Regions from separate parts of the Homo sapiens genome. Here region 2 is linked to region 1. The links are contacts of gene promoters, found by promoter capture Hi-C in blood cells and fetal thymus (Javierre and others, 2016). All regions are on one chromosome and are shown on one strand. Each heading gives the region's core, a stretch centred on a gene start or on the middle of the fragment in contact. The rest is flanking DNA. Distances are from core to core; before and after follow the strand shown.

Region 1 (7,201 bases), core at 562-3,061:
GGTGTGTCCTAAGTCACCTGCTGCTTACCTGTCTCTGCCGTGAGACAGATGGGACTGTGTCTTCTCCACCTCTCAGTCCCCAGGGTCAAGCCCTGTAAAAGAGCTTAGAGCCTGATCTCTGACCCCAGCATGGATCCCAATTCCCTCCCTCACCAACCTGACACCAGCCCATTCCAACTCTGCCCAAGTGCTGACCTCATCCAAGACCCCAGATCCACTTCTAACATGACCTCATCCCGGCCCTGGGAGCACACATGGGAAAGGAAAAAAGGCAGGACTCTCCCATTTCCAAGCGTGCACCCCTCCCTTCCTGAGGAAGAAAGGCTGAATCTTGAGCCCACGTAGAATCTGCAGAGGGAGGCCGGGCGCAGTGGCTCACACCTATAATCCCAGCACTTTGGGAGGCCGAGGCGGGTGCATTACCTGAGGTCAGGAGTTCGAGACCAGCCTGACCAACATGGTGACACCCCGTCTTTACTAAAAATCCAAAAAAACTAGCTGGGCTTGGTGGTGCATGCCTGTAATCCCAGCTACTTGGGAGGCTGAGGCAGGAGAATCACTTGAACTGGGAGGCAGAGATTGTGGTGAGACAAGACTGTGCCACTGCACTCCAGCCTGGGCGGAGCGGGACTCCGTCTCAAAAAAAAAAGAATCTGCAGAGGGAAGTTAGTGCCTTACAGAGGGCTTCTGACTAGGAAGCCCCGGGACTGTGGCCGACCCCTTCCTCTCCCTGCCTCACCCCTGCAGAAAGATCTGCAGAAAAAGCTGGAAGGGGTGGGAGGGTGTGTGCAGGGGTGGGGACTGGGGCTATGCAGGTTCCAGACCTGGTCTTTGGCACCCTCTACAGGACAGTTCCATTCCCAGACCTGAGCTTTGGACAACTGAATCTTATGCCCCTTCCCACCCATGGAGCCTGGTGCCGGAAGTTCCCAGGACTTACCCACCGTCCACCACGCCACATAGCAAGCGTCCTCAGTGTCTGCAGACCAGAAACACCTCCCTTGTGTCTCAGCACTGGGCCACCTGCTGAAACCCCAAACTGCCTGCCCCATTGTTTGAGACCCAGTCAGGCCTTGGCTCCAAAAGTCCTCTGGGACTGCTGCTGGCCCCCAGGGTCTCTCCTGACTGCACCTCGGTCCCGGAGCTCCCACACCGCTGAGCCCCGAGCCCGATGTCCCGATCCAGCTCTGGGTCCTTTACGGGGGCCTTGCTGGCCTTTCCTAAGGGAGGTGTTTTCCCGAGGACAGGTGGACTGCTCCTCAGACTAGGGGCCCTCGGAGGGCCAGGCCTGGGCTTCTACCTCCTCTCGCAGGCTGGTGTTTCTCTGCAAATATGGCTCGTGTGTCCTCCTTCCTCTCAGACTGGGGGCCCCTGAGGACTGGGCCTGAGTTTCCCTTTCCCCCTTCACAATGGGGGTTCCCTGAGGACTGACCCAGGGCCTCCCCCGTCCCCTCCACCTGGCTGTTAATCTCCAACACTTCCACCTCCAGTCCTATTCTGCACAGCTCTCCCCAGCGCTGGGGGCTCAGAGGCCTCTTCAGCCTTCCCCAGGGCTGGGGCTCAGGGAGGGCTTCCTCAGGCGCTGGCCCCAGAGTCAGGCTGCACATTGGCTTGGAGGACAGGCCTTTCCTCTGGGACTGAGAGGCCCAGAGTGCCCACCCAGAGCTCCACCTCTGACCTCACAAAGGCCTGCTTCAGAACTCGGTCTCCACGGCACTGCTGGCCGGACGAGGGATGTTATTTTGGGCAGTGCATCTGGACTTGGTTCAAGTGGCACCAGCCAAACCCCTGCCTTACTGACCTCTCCCCTGGAGGAGCAGGAGCAGCGCTCGAGGCCGCCCTGGGAGAGCTGAGAGGCAGGCTCTGGACTGGGGACACAGGGATAGCTGAGCCCCAGCTGGGGGTGGAAGCTGAGCCAGGGACAGTCACGGAGGAACAAGATCAAGATGCGCTGTAACTGAGAAGCCCCCAAGGCGGAGGCTGAGAATCAGAGACATTTCAGCAGAGTGAGTGGGGCTCCAGGCAGGGTGGGGATGGGGCAGCCTCCTCAGCGCCCAGATCTGGAAGGGCCATTCCCTGGGTACCATACAGGGAGGAGGTGACTGAGGGATTGTTTGGGGAAGGAGCCCCGTCTGGGAGTGGAAGTCCCGGCTTTCTTGTTATGGTGCAGTCCTGTGTTGCTGTGTGACACAGGCACATACACCCTCTCTCTGGGCCTCAGTTTCCTTACCTGTAAGTTGGTTGTTGGGAGGACCAGCGGTAGAGCAGAGATGGCAGGGATGCACTGAGCTGGGCTGTCAGCAGACCATGGGGGTGGGACGAGGAGAGAGCTGAAGACCACCGGCAGTGGACCACAGCGGGAGGCGTGCAGGCAGGAGACGGGTCAGCTGCCGGCTTGCTGGAGTCATTCCTCCCACGCAGTCCCCTCCTGAGGGGCTGGAGCTGGGGCTGGAGGGTTTCGGCAGTCAGGGCTGGAGATAAGAGTCTGTGCTGGAGCTAGAGGGAACTGGGCTAGAGAATCAGGAGGACAGACAGGGTGAGGGGACTTCGGGCTACCTTCATGCTGTCAGTTAGAGATAAAGATAGGAGTACAAAGGGGAATTTTTGGGTGAGGTACACGGGTGAAATGAGTTTTCAGGGCCTCATCCTGTGTGTTCACCTTCTGTGTGTGTGTGTGTGCATGCGTGCATGTGTGTGTGTGTGCAGGTCCTGGACAGTCGCAGCTTAAGTTAGCAGCAAGAGGACTTGAGGTTAAAGGTATAGCACGCAAATATGAGGCTGGAGCCACTGAGTAGAGGCTGAGGGCATCTCCACAGTCCAAAGCCGGGCTGCAGACACGGAAGGTCAGCAGGAGCACTGGAGGGTCTGGCCTGGGGCTGGGGTCCTGGGGCCAGCATGGGTGGGGTGGGGCTCCAGGGCGTCGCCTCATTGGCTGAGCACCGCTCCTCCCTCCCTGTTCCTTGGCTGGGTTAAGGGAGTGGCACTAGCAGGAGCTGCCCCAGGGCTTCTCCCCTGGGGACCAAGGTCTGATGGAAGTGTGGGGCCAAGTTCTGTGTCCTCCAGCCCTAGTGACCTCTCTTTGGCTCCTCAGCATCTACAAATCTGAAAGACAAAACATGGTTCAAGCATCCGGGCACAGGCGGTAAGTACCCCACCCTCTTCTCACCCTCCAGCCCCCTGTCCTTCACCCAGCCCACTTCAGTGCCCTCCCTGTTCCATCCTCAGCCTCTCCCTTGGGGCAGCTGTCCCCACTCGACCTCCTCCTCCCCACCCACCCACTCGCCTCTGAGGTCCCAGAAGAAGAGCATCTTCCACCTGTTGCCTGGGCTGGGTCCTGGGGTGAGGGGAGGCTCAGAAATACTTGGATGAGGGTCAAGGCATGCAGGTGGCCTTCAACTCAACTGCACTCAGCACCTCTCACCCTCTCAGGCTCAGCTGTCTTTGGGGTGAACAAGAGCCAGTCCTTGCAATGGCCAAGGCCCAGCCTTGTTAGCTTTCTGGCCTCCCCACTCCAGCCCCCTGCTCTCCCTCCTCCAGCCACACTGAGTTTCTTTTCAGGTTTTTTTTTTTTTCCGAGATGGAATCCAGTTCTGTCGCCCAGGCTGGAGTGCAATGGCATGATCTTGGCTCACTGCAACCTCCTCCTCCCGGGTTCAAGCGATTCTCTTGCCTCAGCCTCCTGAGTAGCTGTGATTACAGGATTACAAGCACACACTACCACACCCAGCTAATTATTATTATTATTATTTTGGTATTTTTAGTAGAAATGGGGTTTCGCCATGTTCGCCAGGCTGTTCTTGAACTCCTGACCTCAGGTGATCCACCCGCCTTGGCCTCCCAAAAGGTTGGGATTACAGGTGTGAGCCACTGCACCTGGCCTCACACTGACTTTCTTTGCTTTCTTCAAACATGCTGAGAGTCCTCTGGTGACTAGTCTCCCTCCACCTGAGAGGCTTTCTGCAGCTAACATACAGCCCACTCTCGTCTCCTTCATGGCTTTGCTCCAAGGCCACCTTCTCAACAAGGATTACTCTGGCTGCCCTATTTGAAATCACACCCCATCTCCAGCCCCTGCACTCCCAATTCCCCTCTCCTTGCTCTGTTTTTTTCCGTAGGAGCTGGTACCTTCGCTTATACAAATGTACTTACTTATTACATTTCATTGCTGTCAGCTCCACGCAAGCAGGGATATTTGCCTGTTGTACACTTGGACGGAGAGAATGAATAGTGCCACTCTGTTGACATCATTGCCTCTAGCCTACATCGCTCTCCAGGGCTTTAGATCCTGTTTCTAGAGACCCACTGGTGTCTCACAGGCAACTCAGCTCCTAGATGGAAACAGCCTCCTCCGCCCCCTGCAAGTCCACTCCTCCTGTGCTCTTGGCTCAGTCAGGGGTCCCCTTCTCCTCAGTTGCTCAAGCCAGAAGTCAAGGTCATGTCCTTCATACTTCCCTCTCCCCCATGTCTCACATCCAGTCACCAATCTCCTAAAATATCTAGAATGTGCACAGCTTCCACCATTCTTTCTACCACCACCCTACTCCCCCATGGCCATGTCAGGCCACCACCCGCCCATTCTTCAAAACCCCCTTCAGGCCTCACCTCCCATGCCTTCCCTGAGCTCCCCCAGTCCCAGGCTGCTTCTCTCTGGTGTTGTTGCCATTACCCATCTCTTCCATTAAACAGAGTGACCCAAGGGTGGAGAGTGGGTTTTGACTTTGTATCCCTGGTGCTTGACTCATAAGTAGATGCTCAACAAAAAAAAATTTTTTTTTTTTGAGATGGAGTCTTGCTCTGTTGCCCATGCTGGAGTGCAGTGGCATGATCTCGGCTCACTGCAACTTCTGCTTCTTGGGTTCAAGCGATTCTCATGTCTCAGCCCCTCCCCCCCCAGCTGGTATTACAGGTGCCTGCCACCATGCCCAGCTAATTTTTTTTTTATTATTAGTGGAAATGGGGTTCTGCCATGTTGGCCAGGCTGGTCTTGAACTCCTGACCTCAAGTGATCCACCTGCCTCGGCCTCCTAAAGTGTTGGGATTACAGGCATGAGTCACCATGCCTGGCCAACCAATGTTTGTTGAATTAAGAAATGTTGGTTAGCAGGTTGAATTGTTGGCTCGTGGTTAGTTGGATAGTTTATGGTTGGCTGGTTGATTAGATAATTAAATGAGTTAATAGCTGGTTAACAGGAGAATCAGTTAGTTGGTTTTTGATAGGTTAGTCAAAGGGTTAGTAAGCCACCAGGCGTGGTGGCTCATGCCTGAAATCCCTGCACCTTGGGAGGCTGAGGCGGGAGGATTGCTTGAACCCTGGGAAGTCTAGGCTTCAGTGAGCTGTGACTGTGCCACCACCGCACTTCAGCCTGGGCGACAGAGTGAGACCCTGTCTCAAAAAAAAAAAAAAAGGAAAAAGAAAAAGAAAAGAAACAGGCTTTTAGTGAGCTGTTAGCTATTTAGTTCCTTGGTTAGCAGATTACTTAGGGAATCTGGTTGGCTGCCAGTTTCTTGCTTTGTAGGCTGGCTTTCTTGGGCCCCTCTTCTTAGTCTGTACCCTCTCCTTGAGCTCTCTCATCTATGCCCATGGCTCAGATGACCATCTGTGATTTGCTGTCCTCCAAATGTGTCTGTAAGTGAGACCACATGACCAGCTGCCTCCTCACTGGCCATCCCACCCAAGTGTCTAGCGGGCTCCTCACACTCAACATGCCCAGAAAGGGCCTCCTTGTCCATTCTCCCACAGCTTCTCTGCTGCGCCCCACACTAGTCAGGACCTGCCCTAGCCAGGACCTGAGGGCATCGCTGAGCTGCCCCGCTCTCTTCCCTCTCTAACCAAACACCAAGCCTGTCAGCTTGACTGTGCTCTTTTGGCCATTGGCGCTGCCATCTCTGTGGCTCAGGCTGCCGCCACTTCTCCACCCATCTGTGGAGAAGCTGATGCTCACCCTGCCTCCACTCCACTTCCTCCATCCTGGCCTCCACAGGGGAGGCAGCTCTCCTGCTGAAACCCTCCACTTGGCCCATGGCCCTCTGGTAGAGTTCAGACTCCCTAATGTGGGCCATGAGGCCTTCTGCCACCTGGCCCTGGCCCCTCTCTGCCCATCTCATGCCACCTCCACTCCTCCGTGGCCAGCCCATTCCTGCACATTGGATACTGCCTTAGCTGCAGGCCTTTGCACATGCCAGTCCTACGCCCAGAGTGATCCCTGCCTCCCTGGAGGCTCCTTTACCCTCCAGCCTTCTTTTCTTGACCTAAATTTCCCTTTCTCTGGGAGCCTCCTACCCCCTCCTCTAGGCCATTCACTTCCTCCACATGCCCCACGGTGCCCACTCTTTCAGCTGGGGCAGTGCTCATCACACTGCATAGTAATTGCTCAATTGATTGCTTTTCTTCCCACGGGCTGGATCGTACCAGTGTCCTTTACTGCAGTGTCTGAACATTCTAGGCACAGTAGATTCAAGAAATCTTGAGTTCATTGGCTGGTTGGTGGTTATCTGTTGCTTACTGTGTCTTGCCAGCTGTGTGGTGATGAGGAAGGAGCCAGGCTTCCAGGATTCTCTTGGTGTTCTTGGCTTTCTGCTCTATCCACTTCTCTCTCCTCTTCTGTGGTTACCTCCAGCATGGGAGCTGGGGTTGGATGGGGGCCAGTGGAGGGTCACCTCGCCCTGCTAGGGAGAGCAGCAGCATTCCTCAGGGCTCCTAAATTCCCCTGACCTCACAGCAGCAAAAAGTAAGCAGAGGGAATGAGAGATGTCCAGGCATGGAATAAAACATCTTCCACTTTTCAGCTGAGACCCTCTGTTCATAGCTCACCCATCCCAGTCTTTGCTCTATTCCTTACCCCAGAGAAACAAAACCAGGGAGGAGTAGATGGAGGGGGATGCAGAGTTGCGCGGATAATCCACTGGCCCCCATCCAACTCCAGCTCCCATGCAGCATCGTATAGGGGTCTCATTATCCCATGAGCAGCCTCCTCAGCCCTGAAGAAGAGACCCTACCAATGCAAGCAGCAGCCCAAAGACAGTCCTGGGAAGGTACCATAGAGGCAGGGGAGAGGTAGACAGAGCAGGGAGCCAAGAACACCAAGGAAATCCTGGAAGCCTGGCTCCTTTCTCATCAGCACACGGCAGGCAACAACCAGCCAATGAACCAAAGATTTATTGAATCTACTATGCCTACTATGTTCAGGCACTGCAGTGAAGG
Region 2 (7,237 bases), core at 1,755-4,254, 240 kb before region 1:
AATAGTTGTCTTATAATTTTTGTCAAGTTTTATAGTGGCTTAAGGCAATAGGACAAGTACAGTAACAACTATCTCTTTTGATTTAAAGCCAAATCCCAAAAATAAGCATTTTAAAGGTTTTTGTTCCATATTGTCAAACTGACACCATTATAAGTAGTTTAAAAGAGTAACACTTTGACTAGACTCTTAATCAAATTGGACAACAAAATTCATTTGTAAGTGTTCTCAAGCACATTTTTACTAATATCTCATTCCATATTCATATGAATTTTCTGTATTCATATTTTCTCATTCATTATTAAATTGTTTGTTGGATTTTTTTAGATTGTTATCTTTATGGTAAACCCTGATGGTTTTCAGGATATCATTTAAAATTTGTTTTCCTAAATTTATTTTTTCCCAGACTTCCTCAGGAATTTGTTTTAATTTATCCAATGATAAATCACTCCCAAAGAGAATATAATGTTCTAATGTTTTTCATGAAAGTAATCTATATTTTGTCATCCTTATACACATTACTTGAAATACATTTTTATGGTTCTTTTTACTCTTCTCCCTTTCCCCAGAAATCAAAATTCAATGTAGTGTAGCTGAAAGTTTCTCAGTGCCTATATGTCTCAGTGAATGGGAGTTGCTTTGCAAGCATTTGCGGAATCAAAATGGATCAGCTGTCATATCAAGAGCTCAAGGAGATTGGTGTTTGCAGTGGATGGAATTTGGCCCTAAAAGAGATAATGTGTGGGCAAGTATTAAGTCTTCCAAAAAGATGTGTGAAGTTTTTCTGTCCTTTGCTATAATCAGACAGCATAATCTACTTAGAGCAATGAAAATTAATTTGAATCAGATTTACCCCAGATTGTAAAAAAGCACAGCTAAATGAAGTGAAGCATTTTTTTCAGCAGTTCTGGATGGAAAGGGATGTCGATGGGTGACAGTAGTTTGGGGACAGCCATGGCTGGTAACTTTTCTATGCTGCTTAAAGACATGAGTAATAATGGAAGAGACAGCATGTTGAGCACTCAGCAGAGTGGAAGTGAAAGATAGAAGTCTCATTCACATAATGGAGATAACACGCATGCACCTACTAAGGTAAGAGACCACCTGGCTCCTCCCACATCTACTAATTCTTTGAAGTCTGGGACAGGGGTGGTGCCATATTGGGTGGTGGTATTTCCAGTGCCTAAAATTTCAAAAAGGAGACTAATATCTTGTATATCTTAGGACTTCCTACAAATTGTTGAGGAAAATATAGAACTCTCAATAGAGAATTTTGCCTGAGGATATGGATAGGCCATTTTGAGAACAGAAATCCAGGACCACTATCACATGAAGAAGTGCTCAAATTCATTAGTAGTTAGAAAAATGCAAGGGAAAGAAAAGGAGGGAGAGAACATTATTCAGCTTTCTAGATTGTTGCCACCTATTATTATAGTAGTATAAAGTAATCTCTCAGTTCCTTTAAATTATTGGTTTTATTTAGTTTTAAAAGAATTGTCACCTGTTTCTTTATGGTAAACACTGATGATATTCTGGTGTTGGGTGAGCAGGGCTGAGGGGATGGAGAGAGAGGGAGATTGGAACCTCTTTACATCGCTATACTGATAACAATCTAGATCACTGGATAAGGATTAAAGGAGGTATTAGGATGTAGGAAAACACCCTATTCACTTTTATGTGGGATTGCAGATGTATACGGTGATCCTGAAGAACCTGTGGTGGCATTTAGATAGATAAAATATGCATAGAATTACATGTCTCAGCAATCACAACTTGTTCTTGGTATATAATCCTATAAAGCAATCATACAAGTCTATGAAGGTATTTGTACAATAATTTTCAATTCTGGCCGGAAACCAGAGAAAATCTGGGTATGTATTTCTGAAGAAATGGGTATGAGTACTCTCTATCATACAGAACCAACAGACCGAATGTACATACTGAAAAACAGAGCATTTCCCTTGCTTGAGCTGAGTGGAAAAGTAACGTTTATGTGATTTTAAATACATACATACATGCCTACTGCTGAGTGCTCTATGAGAAGGTTCATGGCTGGATCATGACGGATCTGTTTTTTTCTCCTGGGATTTTGAACTCAGGCTTAGAAAGAGCTGGGGTGGTATTTGTCACTGTAGGGAAATTATGGCAACTGAATTTGTAATCTTTAGTGACCATCTCATTCTCACCACGAGGCCTGGAGAAAAAGGGATGGTGTACAGGGAGAGAAAAGCATGCAGCTGCAAAACTGAATAAAAATCAGAGCTGGAGAGATAGTCATTCTAGAGCCTGGCCCTAGTGGTGCCTTTTCAGAACTGTCTGTCCTTTTCAGAACTGTCTGTCCATCACCTCTTGACTTCTGCTAAACACCCTTTATCCTTGTGTTAAATTCCACTGTGGCTTAAGCTGGCTCCAGTTATTTTCTGTTACTCCCTTCCAACCTAATACATCACCTGCTTCCTGAGCTGGGTCTGTGGCAAGTTTGTGTGCTAACAGGAACTGACATTTCAGTGCTGTGGACGGACTGGTGGCACAGAGATACAGTGCGGTGTCTCCCGGTTCCGAGGACAGGATTGCCAGGCTGCAGGGTGGGTTCTTGGGGCATTGAGATGAGAATCGCTTCTTGTGCATCTCCATTTCTTGAAGAACTTGTTCATTCTGAAAGGAAATCAAAAACATAAACTCTTTATTCTGATTCTGCTGATACCAACAAACAAAAGTATGTCCGTTTTTGGGGGTACAATACATCTTTGTTTTCCTTCCTTTTCCTTTGACCAAATATCCTGGAGTCTGTGTGACTTTGGCATGAAAACAGCCTGTAAGAGAAAGAAACAGATGCTGTAGACAGAGTCCAGGAAAGACCTTAACAACAACAGCAAAGCTTGGATCTGGGGGTTGGCCAGCCCAGGACAAGGGTTTTTATTCTGTGCTCAGAGCTCACCTGCTGCCAGGAGACAAAGAGCTACCCAGCCGAGAAGCCTGGTGCCCGTGGTCGCATTGACGTCGCAAAGGGATGAGGCTTTTTCATCCCCGTCTGCACCTTCTTGTGACGTGATTGCTCCACAGATTCATAATCATCTTGTTACTGCTTCATGTTTCTGAGCAAAAACACTTCATGGTATCGGGAAAAAAAGCTTTTATTCCTAACTCAGTAAATATAACTAAGTTATTTTGTATTCATTTAAAATATTGTATGTCTATTTTTGCTAATATAAGCAAAGCACTGATATTTTAGAAAGTTAGAAAATAAAATAACAAAATAAAAATATACCACTGCCAGAAAGCAATTATCACTGTTAACACATTAGTGAGAGTCTTTCTAGATCCTTCTCTCCCCATATATAAATGTGTAGATATATAGACACATTATTTTTTATTATAAACAATATTCTTGAAATTCTGTTTGATAAGCTTTTTTTTTCAGTTAATGATCATCATCCTTTCTCATCAATGCAGTTTCATCTTATCTGCTATTTAGTTTTTATGCAGAGTTTTACAGTTGTTTCAAAAATGTCCTTTGCCATTAATTTGAGCATCAGTTTCTAACTCACGACTAGACATTTCTTCTGGCTATTAATTATCTAATTATCTTTTAGTATAATATAGATCTCTATTGTAATTGCTATTTTTATGATTCTGAAACTAGCCACTGCTTTGAAAAATACTTCACCTTTTAGCTCTTTTTGGTGTATTTTAGCTTGTTCATTTACTAGTGTTTCTTTTAGATAACCTCCCTTTTTTGCTTTTCTTTCTGTAACTATTTATTTTAAATAGTGCATTTTTGGTGATTTATTTATTTTTTTACTTTTTTCTTCCTCCATCTCATCCTCATTTCAGGTAAGTAATGTTAACAGTTTAATGTATATCTTTCCATAGATTTCTCCTTACTTATTTAATTGTTCAGTGAGGTTGTTTCCTCCACATTACAAGATTGTCTTTGAATATATAGACAATAACTTGATAACATACCAACAAAATGACCACTTAAAAAAACAACTTGGCACAGGAAATAAAATATTACCAGAATATTTGAAAGCACTCATTTCTTTTCCCAGATCCCATGCCTCTGTTCTCTAACTCTACTGAGGTGTTTGCTTTTATATTTATTTGCTTCTCTTTCATATTTTAACACATAGGTACATAAGCAAACAAAAGTGTTTAGTTTTACATGCTTCCAAACTTTATACAAATGAGACAATACTGTACCTTTCTTCTGTAATGTAATTTTTCTTCAAATTTGTGAAATTCAGTCATGTTTGTGTGTTTAGTTTTAGTTCATGAATTTTTACTGCTGTGTAATTTCTTTATAATAATAAACCATAATTTATTTACTCTTCTGTTAAGTTACATTTGGATATTGTATGCATTTTTGCTATTACAGATGTATTACAGTGAATATCCTTGTCCTGATTTTCACAGAAGTGTTTCTCTAGAAAAGCCTTTCTCAAGGGTGGAATTGATGGACAGTGGGTACACACATCTTGAACTTTACTAGGTAATGCCAAATTGTTTTCCAACTTAGATCTACCAATATACACTCTAGCCAGTGATTCAGAGAATTCTTGTTGACACTTTTGCCTTGCCAACACTTGATAGATTACTATTTTTACCATCGTAGAGATTCTTGTGGGTATATATTTCGTTGGACTCAATTTCCATTTCCCTGATTATTAAATTTAGCAACATTTACATGTTTAATGACCAGTGAGATTTTGCTGGGAGCTTATGGTTTTCACTCACTTTTTCTATTGACAGTTACCTTTTTCTCATTGATCTGGAGAAAAATTAGTTTCTAGGTTTTTAAAAAATAAATTATATATACTAGCTTTTCTTGAATATATAAATATAGATAGGGATATTAATTTGGTATAAATATATAGATATTTAATGATATGTCACTATACAGTCAATCTTGTCACTCTTATATAATTAACTTTGATAAATTCAATATCAGTTTTTATATAGCCATTTTTATCAATCGGTTCCCTACTGATTGAGGGAATAAGAAATCTTTCCCTGCTTTAAGGCCATGAAGATGTCCTTTTATATTATACAGTATTCTAGAAGCCTTGTGATTTTATTACAATTATGCTTTTAATATAGCTGGGATTGATTTTGGCTATGTATTGAGATGTGTCCAATTGCACTTGTTTTCCTTTATATAGATACCCAATTTTCCCATCACCATTTGTTGAAAAATGTATTCTTTGATTATTGCAGTACCATTGCTGTGTGTTTATGCACATGTATTTTTTTCCTTGGATCTATTTATATATCAATGCCCCTATATTATACCACTTTTATTATTGTGGTTTTATAATAATTCTCTTATAATAATTCTTCATGTCTGTTAGATTTAGTCCTCTCACTTGGAGCTTCTACTTCAGTGCCTCAGCTATTCTTTTATCCTTTGCAGCTATTCTTTTATCCTATCCTTTATCCACTGGTAGGCAGACTCATGCAACTTCATTCATGGAGGTTTTTCATTTCCTACTTTGGTGATTTCTTGGAATCTTAGCTAAGTCTTATGTCTTTCCAAATGGAACCTCAATGGAAAAGGTTCTGTTCACCTCAGTAAACTAACATATAACATTTTACCGACTATTCCCTGTTACCCAAGAAGTGTTTGTGGCTTCTTCTGCCTGGGTTACCTTTATTTTTTTCCCTAATTTTCTTAGAAATATCAGACAAAACAAAACTCTCACTCTCTCTCTTTCCCTCTTTTGTTTTTACATCCCATGTTCTAATCACTCCTCACTCTCAGGCTTCTTTATTCTCCATAAGGAACCAGAATACTACAGTCTTAATTCCCATGCATTTTATCTCTGTGATCTAAATCTATATTTGGGTGGAATTTTCTGTCCCCACAGTTCAATTATTGACATGCTGTAATCTGCAGAATCTCAACCTCTAGTCCAGCTTTATGGCATCTCAATTTCACATCTTGTCTATGCAGTTGCGTACTTCTAGTTTTTATCTGATTGTTCCATAGACAGTTGAACCCTATTATCCCAAATGGGAACTGCTACTGCTAACGTGATTTCATATTGTTTGAAATTGTGCCCTTTGTAAATGATCAAAGTTATATGAGGAAAATTGAAAAATTGTATCATTTGCTTGTTTGCTGATAACAAGCTTCAGCTCTCTCTTTTGAGCAACAGCCTACAAAGGACTTTCATACTTATTATATTCATGGAACCAAAAACTCAACTTTTTCAAAAACTCCTTTCTACTTCCTCAGATATATTCCATTTCTTTTGATTCATATACATTGATCATCATCTTTCTCTTTGTAAACTGTTCCCCAAAGTGTCAAACTCTTTAATATGCCTTTGCAAAAGTTGTTCTCTTTGCCTGGAATGCTCTACTCAGAACCAGGTCTATCTGGTGAGGTTCTAATGGGACTTCCTCTTTGCTTTTTCTCATTCAATCAAACAGAATTGTGCATGTCCTCCCTGAAGCTCCCAAATGACTTCTGATTGTAGTATTATATATGATATTTTCCGTTCTATTATAATTACTTTCTTGCTAGACTCTTAGCTCCTTGGATAAAGGATCTATTTTCTTTTCAGTTTTGTATCCTTTGTGTTTGCAAAAGTAACAGGACATAGGAAAATCTCAAGAAAATATTAAAAATGAAAAAATTAAACTAGAGGATGTGGTGGGGACTACAGGGCTAGGACACATTTCCGCACAGAGAGACAATGGCTGTGCTTCCACTGTGGTGCACTCCCAGGACAGAAGTACAGAGCTGTTTGGCTGGTGTGGGCCAGCTTCACCATGAGAAGAAACAGCCCCTTCTCCTCTCGGGAGACACCGTAGCCTTCAGTTAGGTCTCCTCTCTGAATATCCTTTTCAACCCTTGAGTAATAGATCAGTCTCAGATTTTGCTTTGGGTCCTGCCAGTACCAGTACCAGTACATGTCATTGTGTCTCAAATTGTTTCTACTCCAGGGTCACATCCCATCCAGCCCCAGTGAGCTGGAATGGCGTCTGATAGATGTCAGCATCCAAGGGTCCAAGAGACAAAGGCTAGAGATCATGCCCAGAAGGGAGGTGCTGGCCGGGGAGGGGCCTGGCAAGCCCAGGATAGGAATTGACCAACTGGATGTGTGCTGAGCTCACCTGCTCCCAGGAGACACAGGGTCACATAGCAGAGGACACAGCTGCCCATGGCAGCGATGAAGTCTCTCTGAAGTTACAGACACAGGCTCTGAGAGAGAGAGAGGCTGAGATCTAGCCC

What was found. The method cuts DNA at HindIII sites, captures the fragments that hold promoters and counts their contacts. A CHiCAGO score of 5 or more calls a contact.
Region 2: a fragment that was not itself captured here is called in contact with the fragment with the promoter of AQP7 in region 1 in 1 of 17 cell types (erythroblasts); the score reaches 5.1 in erythroblasts.

The regions. Positions count from the first base shown.
Region 1 is chr9:33,397,178-33,404,378 of GRCh38, reverse strand. AQP7 (aquaporin 7) reads left to right here and starts at 1,811. Exons shown (of 8, transcript NM_001170.3): 1 at 1,811-2,006; 2 at 3,092-3,142. The coding sequence starts at 3,117. LOC105376020 (a long non-coding RNA gene) reads right to left here and starts at 2,858. Exons shown (of 3, transcript NR_188543.1): 1 at 2,557-2,858; 2 at 2,231-2,471. RefSeq lists an enhancer at 1-43 and a silencer at 2,594-2,888. The HindIII fragment of the contact is 7,387 bases long and covers 1-7,201 here.
Region 2 is chr9:33,633,784-33,641,020 of GRCh38, reverse strand. It overlaps the pseudogene TRBV22OR9-2 and the pseudogene TRBV23OR9-2. Among named protein-coding and RNA genes, the nearest start is that of PTENP1-AS, 40 kb to the left of the region's middle. The HindIII fragment of the contact is 253 bases long and covers 2,878-3,130 here.